Linked DNA regions of Homo sapiens: region 2 is linked to region 1. Evidence: promoter capture Hi-C in 16 types of primary human blood cells and fetal thymus (Javierre and others, 2016). All regions are on one chromosome and are shown on one strand. Each heading gives the region's core, a stretch centred on a gene start or on the middle of the fragment in contact. The rest is flanking DNA. Distances are from core to core; before and after follow the strand shown. Region 1 holds the start of ODC1 (ornithine decarboxylase 1). Region 2 overlaps CPSF3 (cleavage and polyadenylation specific factor 3).

Region 1 (6,196 bases), core at 123-2,622:
TGTAGCTATAAAGATATGTAAGGATCCTTGGGTTATCTGAAGCCCAGAGAAGGGAGATAACTTGTCCAAGAGCACACAGCAAGTTGGGGGCAGCGCTGGGCCAGTGCTCTGAGCTCCTCCAACCCCGCCCCCACCCACCCAAGGCTAGATCTAGATCTACCCACTCCTCTCCTTAACTCTTCATCGGCTGTACTCCCACCCTAAGGAGTCGAAATCCCCACCCTAGGGAGAGACATATCCTGTCTGGATTGTCCAAAAGGGAATGAAAGGTAAAAATGAAAAAAAAAAAAAAAAGTGTCCCCAATTCAAGTGCAGTGCCTCCCTGGTGCGGGCATTCCAGCGTGGCCTGGAGTGAGTGGCAGTCCACCTCCAGAGGCGTCCCCTGGGCGCTCCTAGGGACTCGAATTTCCCACGCGGCTTTTTGCTTTATGTATTCACTGTTTAGACGTTTTCGGTCAAAGCATTTTGGGACTTCCGTAACTCTCAGAGCGCGCCAGGGAGCCGCCCTTAAAGATACCTAGTTACTGATGAGTTCCATCCGGTAAAGCAGAGGGTAGTGGGCGGCTTGGAGACTCAGGATCCGGGTCCCCTCACGCTCCTGGCTGAGTCCCTGGCTTCACAGGGGAAACTACCTCCGCAGGCCAGGACCCATCTAGTTACAGGATACCTCGATGTTACAAAGACGAGGCTTCCAGCGCGGGGGCGTGGAGGCGGCTGCCAGCCCTGCCCGCAGCGTGCTGGCGACCCCCGGGACGCCCCTTCCCTCCCGCGCCTCTGCTCCCTAGCTGGTGGGAGCAGAGCGGCACCGGGATCACTTCCAGGTCCCTTGCACCGGAGGAATGGGCGGCAGCAGGGTCCGGAGTCGGCCCGGCGGGGCCCACGTGGCCAGCACATCGGTCCTCCGCTCGCGATTTCCCTTTTCCGCTCTCGGGCACGAGGTACTGAACGCCAGGTGGAAGCACAGCTGTGCAGCTACAGGCTCTGCCGTTCAGCTGCCGCGGGCCGGGGCCGGGGCCTGCGGCGTCGTGCGCGTGCGCGGACCAGTTCCAGGCGGGCGAGACCGCCGCAGGGCGGGGCGGGGCGAGGCGGCCGCAGGGCGGGGAGGGCGGGGAGAGGCGGCCGCAGGGCGGGGAGGGCGGGGCGCGAAGCCGGGGGCGGGGGCCACGCGTGGGGCAGGCGGTGCTCGGCTCGGCTGACGTCGGCCCGCCGGCGCCCCACCAGCTCCGCGCGGGCCCGGGTTGGCCACCGCCGGGCCCCCGCCCCTCCCCCGGCGGTGTCCCGGCCGGAACCGATCGTGGCTGGTTTGAGCTGGTGCGTCTCCATGGCGACCCGCCGGTGCTATAAGTAGGGAGCGGCGTGCCGTGGGGCTTTGTCAGTCCCTCCTGTAGCCGCCGCCGCCGCCGCCCGCCGCCCCTCTGCCAGCAGCTCCGGCGCCACCTCGGGCCGGCGTCTCCGGCGGGCGGGAGCCAGGCGCTGACGGGCGCGGCGGGGGCGGCCGAGCGCTCCTGCGGCTGCGACTCAGGCTCCGGCGTCTGCGCTTCCCCATGGGGCTGGCCTGCGGCGCCTGGGCGCTCTGAGGTGAGGGACTCCCCGGCCGCGGAGGAAGGGAGGGAGCGAGGGCGGGAGCCGGGGCGGGCTGCGGGCCCCGGGCCCCGGGCACGTGTGCGGCGCGCCTCGCCGGCCTGCGGAGACACGTGGTCGCCGAGCGGGCCACGACCTTGAGGCGCCGCTTCCTCCCGGCCCGGGGTTCTCCCGCGGCTGGATAAGGGTGATCCGGGCGCCTCGTTCTGCCCCCGTCTTCACAGCTCGGGGCTGGAGGGGCCTAGGGGAGACCCACCCGGAGACCCTGCGGCCCCGCGCCGGCCTCTTTCCCAACCCTTCGGCGGCCGCGCGCTGGCCGGGGAGCCGTTGGGGAGGCCCTGGCGGCCGCGCAGCAGGTGCAGGGGCGCAGAGCCCGGGCTCGCCTTGGTACAGACGAGCGGGCCCCGGCCTTGGCGCCTTCAGTTTCCTTCCAGTTTTTATTTTCGCTGTGTCTACAGAGCAGATGACACCAATTTGGAAACCCGCGAGAGTGGGTAGAGCTAAGATAGTCTTGCTGTAGTAGCTGTGATATTAGATGCTCGGCCATGACTTAGAGGTGTTTATTTAAGGACTGTGAATGACTCGGTGATTTCGGAAAAGCTTGGCTTAGATGAACGGACATACACAGGGGAGACAGCCCTAAGGTTTGCAGAAAAGGCTGATTGTGCTGTTTGCGAAGTCGAAATAATTGGTGAAAGTGTAGAAGGCAGAACCTCTCAGGAATGTCTGGGGAGGACAAAGAATGTGTTGGCTGACTTTGTTTAAACATAAAATTGGGCAGACTTTAATTGATTTGTGAAATTTTTTTCAAAGTTTGTTTGAATTAGCCCCTATCTCTTCTAACATTATCCTCTTGTGCTAATTGATTGACCATTTTAAATAACTTAGCTGTTACAGAAAGACCGAAAGGTGTTCTTCAGTAAAATATATTCAAGTAAGTTACTTAAGTAACGCCTTAAAAGATACAGAAAAGCAAAAAAGTATTGGCGTATTAAAAAGAAATCAAAACTTTCCAAGTTTAGGCCTGAACATTGCCTTAAAAATATTTAATAAGGCCTCAAATGACCCAGTCCGAGACTGCATGAGCCTATTTATTATTAAATTGTAAATATTCTTCATATAAACAAAAATATATAACCATGTCTGTAACAAAAATGGTTTTGCTAGCGTTGTTACTCTCTTCCCTTCTCCGAGGGGTGATTTAGGCAACTTCGGAGGTTGACAATGCCAAGCAGTCACAATAGATAGAGCTTTAAAGCAAATTCTATGCATGGGTTTGGATTTATGACAGGCCCGTCACCCTGGGCCTGTCATAGTACCCCATGCCAGAGCAAACTGTGTCCCCGAACCATTGCCTGGCCTCTGTGCCCGTAGGCTGCTGGCACTGAAGTGGGTTGCACAGTGGAAAAGAAGAAAGCTCTACCTGGCAGAAATTTTTAAAGGTTAAAATAAATAATTTTAAGAAAGCTGGTTCACAAGGTGCCACATTTGATGAAAGCAAAATACAGTGGCTTTTATTGTTACTAGAGTGATGTTCTTGCTTGTTTTTCTTTTTTGGTGAAGTTAGCCCCAAATTATTCTCATAGCTAAGCAAATACGAGAGTGACTGTAAGGACAGTTGGCATTCCCGGAATTGCTAAACTTGGTAGGCAACGCTGGTTTAAGAATACTGAGTTCTAGCCGGGCGTGGTGGCTCACGCCTGTAATCCCAACACTTTGGGAGGCTGAGGCAGGCGGATCACCTGAGGTCGGGAGTTGGAGACCAGCCTGACTAACATGGAGAAACGCCATCTCCACTAAAAATATAAAATTAGCCAGGCCCCGGGTGTGGTGGCACATGCCGGTAATCCCAGCTACTCGGGAGACTGAGGCAGGAGAATCGCTTGAACCCAGGAGGCGGAGGTTGAGGTGAGCCGAGATCATGCCATTGCACTCCAGCCTGGGCAACAAGAGTAAAACTCTGTCTCAAAAAAAAAAAAAAAAAATACTGAATTCTGATCAGGTAACAGCAACTGTAATACAATGTGATAAGTTGACTTGAAGATTACAGTTTTTAAGAAGTATATACCCAGCTAATACATGAAAATTAACTCGTAAAATCTCAAATGCTCCAGACATTTCCATGATGCCTGTTGGTCAGTAAAAATCATTCTAAGACTTAGTGGAAGTAGGAAATGTTTGTATGGCTGTGTATAAAGGCTATAATGTAATCCCAGCACTTTGGAAGACCGAGGCGGGTGGATCACCTGGGGTCAGGAGTTTGAGACCCACCTGGACAACGTGGTGAAATCCTGTCTCTACTAAAAACACAAAAATTAGCCGGGCATGGTGGCAGGCGCCTGTAATCCCAGCTGCTGGGGAGGCTGAGGCAGGAGAATCGCTTGAACCCGGGAGGCAGAGGTTGCAGTGAGCCAAGATTGCACCGCTGCACTCCAGCCTGGGTGACAGCGTGAGACTCTGTCTCAAAAAAAATAAAAAAGTCTATAATGCTATTTTAAGTTTCTAAGGAACTGAAACTGCTCTGAAATAAATCAGACCATTATAAGACTTTTTTCCATATCAGTGAGCTAAGTGCAGATAAGCTTCTGAAACTTGCATGCTAGATTTTTTTGGTACAAATATTTGAAATGCTTAGTGTGCTGCCTTGGAAAAACCTGGTATTTTTTGTTGTGTCCTTATACTGCCAAGGTTTATGGAATCATGTACCTTATGCCTAGTAATAATTAGGATGACCAGGCCAGTGAGTGGTTCATATCCGGGGCATGATTAGCTCTGCGTGTGCTCAGCCAGTGCCCCATCTTCAACTCGATGTGTTCCTAAGGTAGACAGCAAATTCCCTATTTTATTTCTCAGATTGTCACTGCTGTTCCAAGGGCACACGCAGAGGGATTTGGAATTCCTGGAGAGTTGCCTTTGTGAGAAGCTGGAAATATTTCTTTCAATTCCATCTCTTAGTTTTCCATGTAAGTATTCAGTTTACATTTATGTTGCAGGTTAATCTTAAGAATTGTATTGCTAAGGCTTCTAAGTGAATTTCTCCACTCTATTTGCATTTTGTTGCATTTCAGAGGAACATCAAGAAATCATGAACAACTTTGGTAATGAAGAGTTTGACTGCCACTTCCTCGATGAAGGTTTTACTGCCAAGGACATTCTGGACCAGAAAATTAATGAAGTTTCTTCTTCTGTAAGTATATGAGGCCCATGCTGGCAGTGCAGCTGAGAGTGCCAGGCAAGTGGAAAACTTTGGCAAGGTCTAAGGAAGAGCAATGAGGCTTACATGTCTTGTTATGGAATGTAGAAATTAATTCACTGGTGGTAAATTAATAGTGATAATGGTGATACTCATATCAGTGGCTAGACTCAAAAGAGCAGGATTCATTGTGACTGATGGGAATGAAGGTCGCTGGCTATTGGTGTGGTGTGTGGTGAGGCTGCTAGTGAGTCACCTGTGACCACTCTTGTTTCAGGATGATAAGGATGCCTTCTATGTGGCAGACCTGGGAGACATTCTAAAGAAACATCTGAGGTGGTTAAAAGCTCTCCCTCGTGTCACCCCCTTTTATGCAGTCAAATGTAATGATAGCAAAGCCATCGTGAAGACCCTTGCTGCTACCGGGACAGGATTTGACTGTGCTAGCAAGGTAAGCGATAGCAGCAGGCCTCAAAAGCGTTGTATAAAATGGGCCTGGTATTCCCCACGAGGCAGATACAAGTTGTGTTTTTTGGGCAATAAATGCTCACTAAAGGCAAATGGGGCGGGGGGGTACATGACAACTTCCCATGCTTTTCTGTTTATTCCACGTGTTAAGCCACATATGGATAGCATGACACCACTCTTCTTTTTCAGACTGAAATACAGTTGGTGCAGAGTCTGGGGGTGCCTCCAGAGAGGATTATCTATGCAAATCCTTGTAAACAAGTATCTCAAATTAAGTATGCTGCTAATAATGGAGTCCAGATGATGACTTTTGATAGTGAAGTTGAGTTGATGAAAGTTGCCAGAGCACATCCCAAAGCAAAGTGAGTTATTCCCCCATCTGAGGGCAAGATCGGGAGCATAAGATATGTGGATTCTTATCAAACAAACTTAAATTTCTGATTATTATATTTCTATACTTTAGTAGAAAGTAGTTGAAACCCCCATTGAGTCATGAAGCCTGGGACTCAAACTACAGAATATATCAGCGACAGTATTTAGAACAGGATTGTTTTTATTTTAATTGTGGCTATAAGTGAACATCTATCATGAGACATTTGCTGCACTTTCCTTGCTTGTAGGTTGGTTTTGCGGATTGCCACTGATGATTCCAAAGCAGTCTGTCGTCTCAGTGTGAAATTCGGTGCCACGCTCAGAACCAGCAGGCTCCTTTTGGAACGGGCGAAAGAGCTAAATATCGATGTTGTTGGTGTCAGGTGAGATTTTGGTGGGATAGCTAGAGGTCAAGACATTGAACAGTTTGAGTTTTACAGGCTTTCTCCTAGTGTTTGCTATTATTTTAAGAAATACTAAGACACAGTGTCTCGTCTCTTTATTTTACCCCAGCTTCCATGTAGGAAGCGGCTGTACCGATCCTGAGACCTTCGTGCAGGCAATCTCTGATGCCCGCTGTGT
Region 2 (6,020 bases), core at 2,083-4,582, 1.0 Mb after region 1:
TTGTTAATGAATGATGAAATTACTGATATCCTTATACATGAAAAGGGAGCACCTCATTTTAAAACACAAAATGGTCCATATCTTGAACCATACATGCCATATAGAGCCAAAGTCGTGTATAATCTAATAAAGTAATTTACCTAACTTTGACATAATCAGAAAGAAGCCATCTATAAATAGCTTTTGTGGCATGAGTCATAAATGTTCTTCCTTTGAAACTTGTCTTCTGTAGAAACCAGGGCAGAGCTCCACAGTGATCCAAATGGAAACTTAAAAAGAAAGAGGCTGCATTAATTCTTAAAATTATTATCCATCAGATACCATGTAATGAAACTGTTGCTTACTGTACAAAACAAGTTTTATATAAACAACTATGTGCTGATACTTTCAGAAAAACCAAGAGTAGGTATGTGTAGAAGGAAGAAGTAATGCATACAGTTCTAAAATGGAGGAAAGATGTTTAAAGTATTGTTTTTAAACAGCAAAAAACTTTATTAGTGAATTAGGGAGGAAGAAGAATATCCCAAGCCTACTCCTGGCAGCCAGAATTACAGCAAACATTTTAACAGAATAAAGTTGAAACATGGATATCTCCCTGAGGTCACTGTCTTGTCACATTTTTCTATATGAACTCTATTTAAAAATAGTTTCAATAAAGGTGAAATGGCGTTCTTATAGAAGAATGTGATAAAACAGTGACCTCAAGGAGATATCCTGGAAAAGGGCTTTCTTAGTCTCAAGTTTTACAATGATTCAAGTTCTGTACTATCTCCTTCTCACATACTCACTGAACTTATACATAGAGGTAGGTAAGTTTTTCATAGCAAACTTCTCTAGCCTGTGATGACATTACGGAGTGTTGGTTTAGACTCAGATGTCTGCAATATGCTTCCTAGCAGAAAACACTCTTTTAAAAAACCAAACTCTCAAAATCTAGTAAAGAATGATCTTGATAGTAAAAGTCCGTGAAAAAGTGTCATTAATAAAGGGAAAAACTTACTGACTAATTAATAGGAGATCAATCTCAGCTGGGTCAATTAAATCAATATAAGGAAGAGCATCCATTCCTTCTAGGCCAGGGTGGATCCCACAGTCGAGCTGAAAGAAACAGGAAAAGAGATCACAATCTCCTGCACATTTTATTAAAATTCATTCGGCAAATAGGCAATAATTCTAGTTCCATCACCCATATACTCAAGATGGACTCCAGGCACTAGCACTTGGAACATGATTCTTATTAAATGTGGCAAATATGCCATTAACAATTCTAACTTCCCAACAAATTTAAAATATAGCTCACATTTAGGGGTCACAGGATGCAAAGTACAAAACAGCTTCTTTCCAGCTACTTTTGGTCGTCATTCTAACAACGAATTAAATCTTTTTCAAAAACTTTGATATCAGATTAAAATTTTAAAAGTTTATAGATTTACTACTACCAGATCGACTCTCGTGAGAAGATAATAATTAGAAATGGGAAACTTACCTGATCAGGGTAATTTAAATATTTTAAGGCATTAGGGAACAAATTCTTAAGACTCAGTCATTAAAGTTACTTATTTTTATGGCGTTACTACCAAATTAACAAAACAGATGACTAAAAGGATGACTATGTCTGACCTATACATGTTCTTTTCAGATTGGGAGGAGTTGAGAAGAAAGAGGAATCAAAGGAATCTGAGACACAGAACTGACTTTCTAATGAGTACCTTAGAAACTATCTCCTCTAACCCCTCTACCTTTCAGGCTTAGAGAAGCAAAGTGACTTGGCCAAGGCCGGCAGCCCCAGTGGGACCTGGGGATCCAAGCTTCTAGGCCAAGGCTTGATCCCCACATGCTGGAGGCGGCTAGAGCTCTCAGTGTGTTCAGAGTGCTTGGGCCCTTGGGATCTTCCACTGGGGGTGGGGCAGTTAGGCTGGCTCAACCCTTCAGGAGTGGAAGAGGGACTTTGAAGAGGTAACAGTTCAACAGATCTAGCTGACAATTTTACAGTCATAGAATATATCTTCTTAATCAACTAAATTACTAAGTAGAAGTGTGTATTAGTTTTTCTCATTAACACTATACAGCATAGATTACATGTACTATAACATTTTTCTGGGAGCTAAAAAGATAACTAGTCTATGAGAAAAGACTAACACCCAATACAGACAGAGCCATACTATTAAACTGAGTACAAAAATAGTAATTACCATTATTTTTCTTCCTTTGAACTCGAGAATAATACATGATCTTCCTACTTCTTGCCCAGCTCCACTGTAAATATTCAAGGGGAGAAAAAGAAGGATTAAAAAAAATCAAAACCAAGTCCAATAAACTTACACTTTTTTACAATGTACACTACATGCCATCTGATGACAGCACCTCACTGAAAAATTCTGAGACGTAAGAGAGTTCTACAAAATCACAAAGACAGGGAAGAACAGTGTCCACATGAGAACAGATGAAAACTGATCCTTGGGAGTCCAGGGATCTTGCAGTTCTTAAAATTAAGAGAGAAGGCGGTACAGATCCAAGAAGCCCAAAGGTTTGGGCTTGATTTAAATTCAATTTTCTGAATTTTAGGATTAAATTATAATGTATTTAAAATGTAAACTAGCAGTTACGCAGATTATATAATAATACTTCTAGAATTAGCACTTAAGTAGAAAGCCATAAGCATTTCAACACTGTCATCTTCTTTAAGATCATAATGTGTATTTGCCAAATGGCTTAAATTTAAATGGCCGGGTGCGGTGGCTCACGCCTGTAATCCCAGCACTTTGGGAGGCCGAGGCAGGCAGATCACGAGATCAGGATATCGAGACCCATCCTGGCTAACACGGTGAAACCCCGTCTCTACTAAAAATACAAAAAATTAGCCAGGCGTGGTGGCGGACACCTGTAGTCCCAGCTACTCGGGAGGCTGAGGCAGGAGAATGGTGTGAACCCAGGAGGCGGAGCTTGCAGTGAGCTGAGATCGCGCCACTGCGCTCCAGCCTGGGCAACAGAGCGAGACTCTGCCTCAAAAAAAAAAAAAAAAAATTTTTTTTTTTAAAATACTTATTCATACTGTGAATTTCAATCACTTTTTCTTCTACTTTCTGTTATTTCAGCATATTTTATACCAACTACTTACATAATTTTTGTTTCTTCTTAATAATTTCAGCCATAATTTGCAATGGTCACAAGGCACACTTTAAGTTAAACCTCATCTTTCAAATCCCTCACCTTCTTTGATGCCTTTTCCCAACCATTCTAGCTCACAATCCACTCACTCACTCAACATTAAGCAGCTTCTATTTGCCAAGCACTGGATTAAGTGCCTAGGACATGGAAATGCCTTACAGGGACCCTGACCTCAAGGAACTCAGTCAGATGGACATGCAATGGATCTATCCCCAAACTGAGATCCTACCTCCAAACAGGTGTTGATACAGAAGATCAAACAACTGTGGATGAGAGCCGCCATAAATTCCTGGCCTTCCACTTTTTAAACATTTTTTATTTGTAATTATTGTGGATACCCTGGCCTTCCACTTTAACTGGCCCTCAATGTTGCCTGGCTGTTTTCTCCATTTCATTTCCATATCAACTATTTTCAAACTTTCTTCCCTTTCCCAAATTTTCCAACCTTCTATCCTCTTCTTCACTTGAGGCATGGGCCATCTTCTGCATCAAAAAAATAAACAGTCCATTTGTAAATTTCCTCAACTTCATGTTGGTACAATAATTAAGAATACATGTACCAACAGGGTACCAACCTGCCCACATCTGTCTCCTTCTATTTCTCCTCTATAGATAGAATAGACCTCTCTTTCCACAATGAAACTTTCCACCATTCTACTCTACGTACTCCCTCCCTCCTTCTGAGGAACTCAACACTGCTGTGTCATTGACATTTTCCTCACTGTCTGCTCTTTACCATCCAATCCAAATTTAAACATACTACAGCCATGTTCATCCCCAAATTAAAATCCCTTGACTCTAAGCTCCTTTAGTTCCCACTTTATTCTTTCCCCAGACCACCTCCCAGGGCAGTGGACCCTCTTGTACTTCCTCACCTTCTACTCGCTCCTCAATTCGCTATACTCTGGCTTTTACCAATCACTTTTCTGAAACTGTCCTTGCTGCTCAGTAGTCATTTCAGTCTTTTTTTTTTTTTTGAGACAAGGTCCCCCTATGTTGCCCAGTCTGGCCTTCAACTCCTGGGCTCAAGTGATCCTCCCGCCTCAGCCTCCCAAGTAGCTGGAACTATAGGTGTCAGTCCCTATCTTGTTCTCTTGGCAGCCGTTGTCACTCCTAAGGAGTACCTGCTCCTTCCTCAAGCACCTCTCCCTTGGCTTCTCTGACCTGATGCTCTCATCTTGTCTTGCTGGCTTTCCTGTTTCCTTCACATATTCAGCCACCTCTGCCTACCCTTTAAATGTTGATATTCCGAGGGTTTGCTCCTTGGCCAACTTCTCAATCTTCATTCTCATCTTTCTGACATGCTAAGGACTTCCAAGCCTGTATTTGTAACCCAGATTGTTCTTCTGAATTCTAGACCTTTAATACATACACGTGACACTAGGTATCTCTACTAGGATCTCTCCCGGGACTTCATATTCAAGATGCCAAACTAGTTTCCACCACATGCCCCGTACTTGCTCTACTTTCTTCCTGAAATGCTTTGTCTTCAGATATTGATGTGGTTGGCTCCTTTGTATCATTTGGGTCTCAGTTCCAACGTCACCTTCTCAGATGCTTTCCCTTGACTACCTCCTCTAATTTGCCCTTCACAGCAAGCCACAACCCAGCATCAGTTATCTTAATACAACTACATGAAGTTATTGTACCTACTTATGTCTTCTTTCAGGCTACTAAATGAAAGCTTCCTAAGAACAGAGGCATTGTCCATCTTATTCACTGCTGTATTGCTACAGTACCTGGCATGTAGCACATCACAAAAAATACTTATTGAATGAACAAAACTCCTCAATTTTGAACCTTGGAAAGATTATGCTAAATGAAAGATGCCAGAGACAAAAGAGTATGTATTGTATGATCACACTTACATGAAATGTCCAGAACAGGCAAATCTATAAAGAAGTAGATTAGTGGTTGCTTAGGGCTGGAGAGGTAGTGGGGATTGTCTATGACTGCTAATGAATACAAGGTATCTCTTGGGAGTGATGAAAATGTGCTGGAATTAGAGAGAGGTGATGGTTGTATAACTCTATGTTAAGAACGACTGAATTATACTCTTTAAATGAGTTGTATGGTATGTAAATTGTGAGTTGTATGGTATGTAAACTGTATCTCAATAAAGCTGTTACGAAACAACCAAATTCCCAAATTTACTCCAGAGTTGCCCCATCTCTTATACTCCTTGAGTGAATAACACTACCCTTTCCCAACTGCCAAACTTAGGAATCTGATCATAACATCCTCTCTGCCCTGCCTTCCCTCCCCACAACCACCCTTCCAGATACAGCTGATCAGCCACAAAATCCTGAAGATCTCATTTGCATACTCTCTCACACTCACATCACTCACTACAGGCTCTCGTCAGCTAGACTTAGAATCTTTCAATATCTCACTGAATCTGCTCTACTCAATCCATGCTTTTATTCATCCATGCTTTTATTCATCTGCTACACTGCTGCCAGGAGAGATTTTCCTAAAACATAATTCCCACAATATCCATGCTTGCTTAATAGCCTTCGCTGGCTCCCTGTAATTGACTTGATAAAGGTCCAAACTCCTGTGTATACGAGGTGCTTCCTAAACTGGACCTCAACTGCCTGTCGCTTCATCTGCTAACTCAACTCTTTAGCTACAGCCATGAGGAATCTGGCCACAAGCTGTGACCACTCTCACTTTCATATGTGCCACTTCCACTGCCTAGAACATCCTGGGCCCCCCAGTCTTTAACTCCTACTCATTCTTTAGGACTCAGCTCAGGCATCACATTTTTCAGGATCCACGAGGTATCCTTTTTTCCTCAATCTGTCAGAAATCCCTTTTCCATACTTTCACAGTGCTCAGTGCAATGCCTG

The links. The method cuts DNA at HindIII sites, captures the fragments that hold promoters and counts their contacts. A CHiCAGO score of 5 or more calls a contact.
Region 2: a fragment that was not itself captured here is called in contact with the fragment with the promoter of ODC1 in region 1 in 2 of 17 cell types (activated CD4 T cells and non-activated CD4 T cells); the score reaches 6.3 in activated CD4 T cells.

The regions. Positions count from the first base shown.
Region 1 is chr2:10,443,503-10,449,698 of GRCh38, reverse strand. It overlaps ODC1 (ornithine decarboxylase 1), which reads left to right and starts at 1,372. Exons shown (of 12, transcript NM_002539.3): 1 at 1,372-1,578; 2 at 4,435-4,544; 3 at 4,650-4,768; 4 at 5,052-5,225; 5 at 5,432-5,604; 6 at 5,863-5,997; 7 at 6,128-6,196. The coding sequence starts at 4,667. SNORA80B (small nucleolar RNA, H/ACA box 80B) reads left to right here and starts at 2,850; the gene lies at 2,850-2,985. RefSeq lists silencers at 502-1,981, 3,206-3,435 and an enhancer at 2,102-2,191. The HindIII fragment of the contact is 2,497 bases long and covers 1-2,183 here.
Region 2 is chr2:9,425,001-9,431,020 of GRCh38, reverse strand. CPSF3 (cleavage and polyadenylation specific factor 3) reads right to left here. Exons shown (of 18, transcript NM_016207.4): 2 at 2,193-2,256; 3 at 1,001-1,098; 4 at 141-269. Among named protein-coding and RNA genes, the nearest start is that of CPSF3, 4.4 kb to the right of the region's middle. The HindIII fragment of the contact is 3,044 bases long and covers 1,811-4,854 here.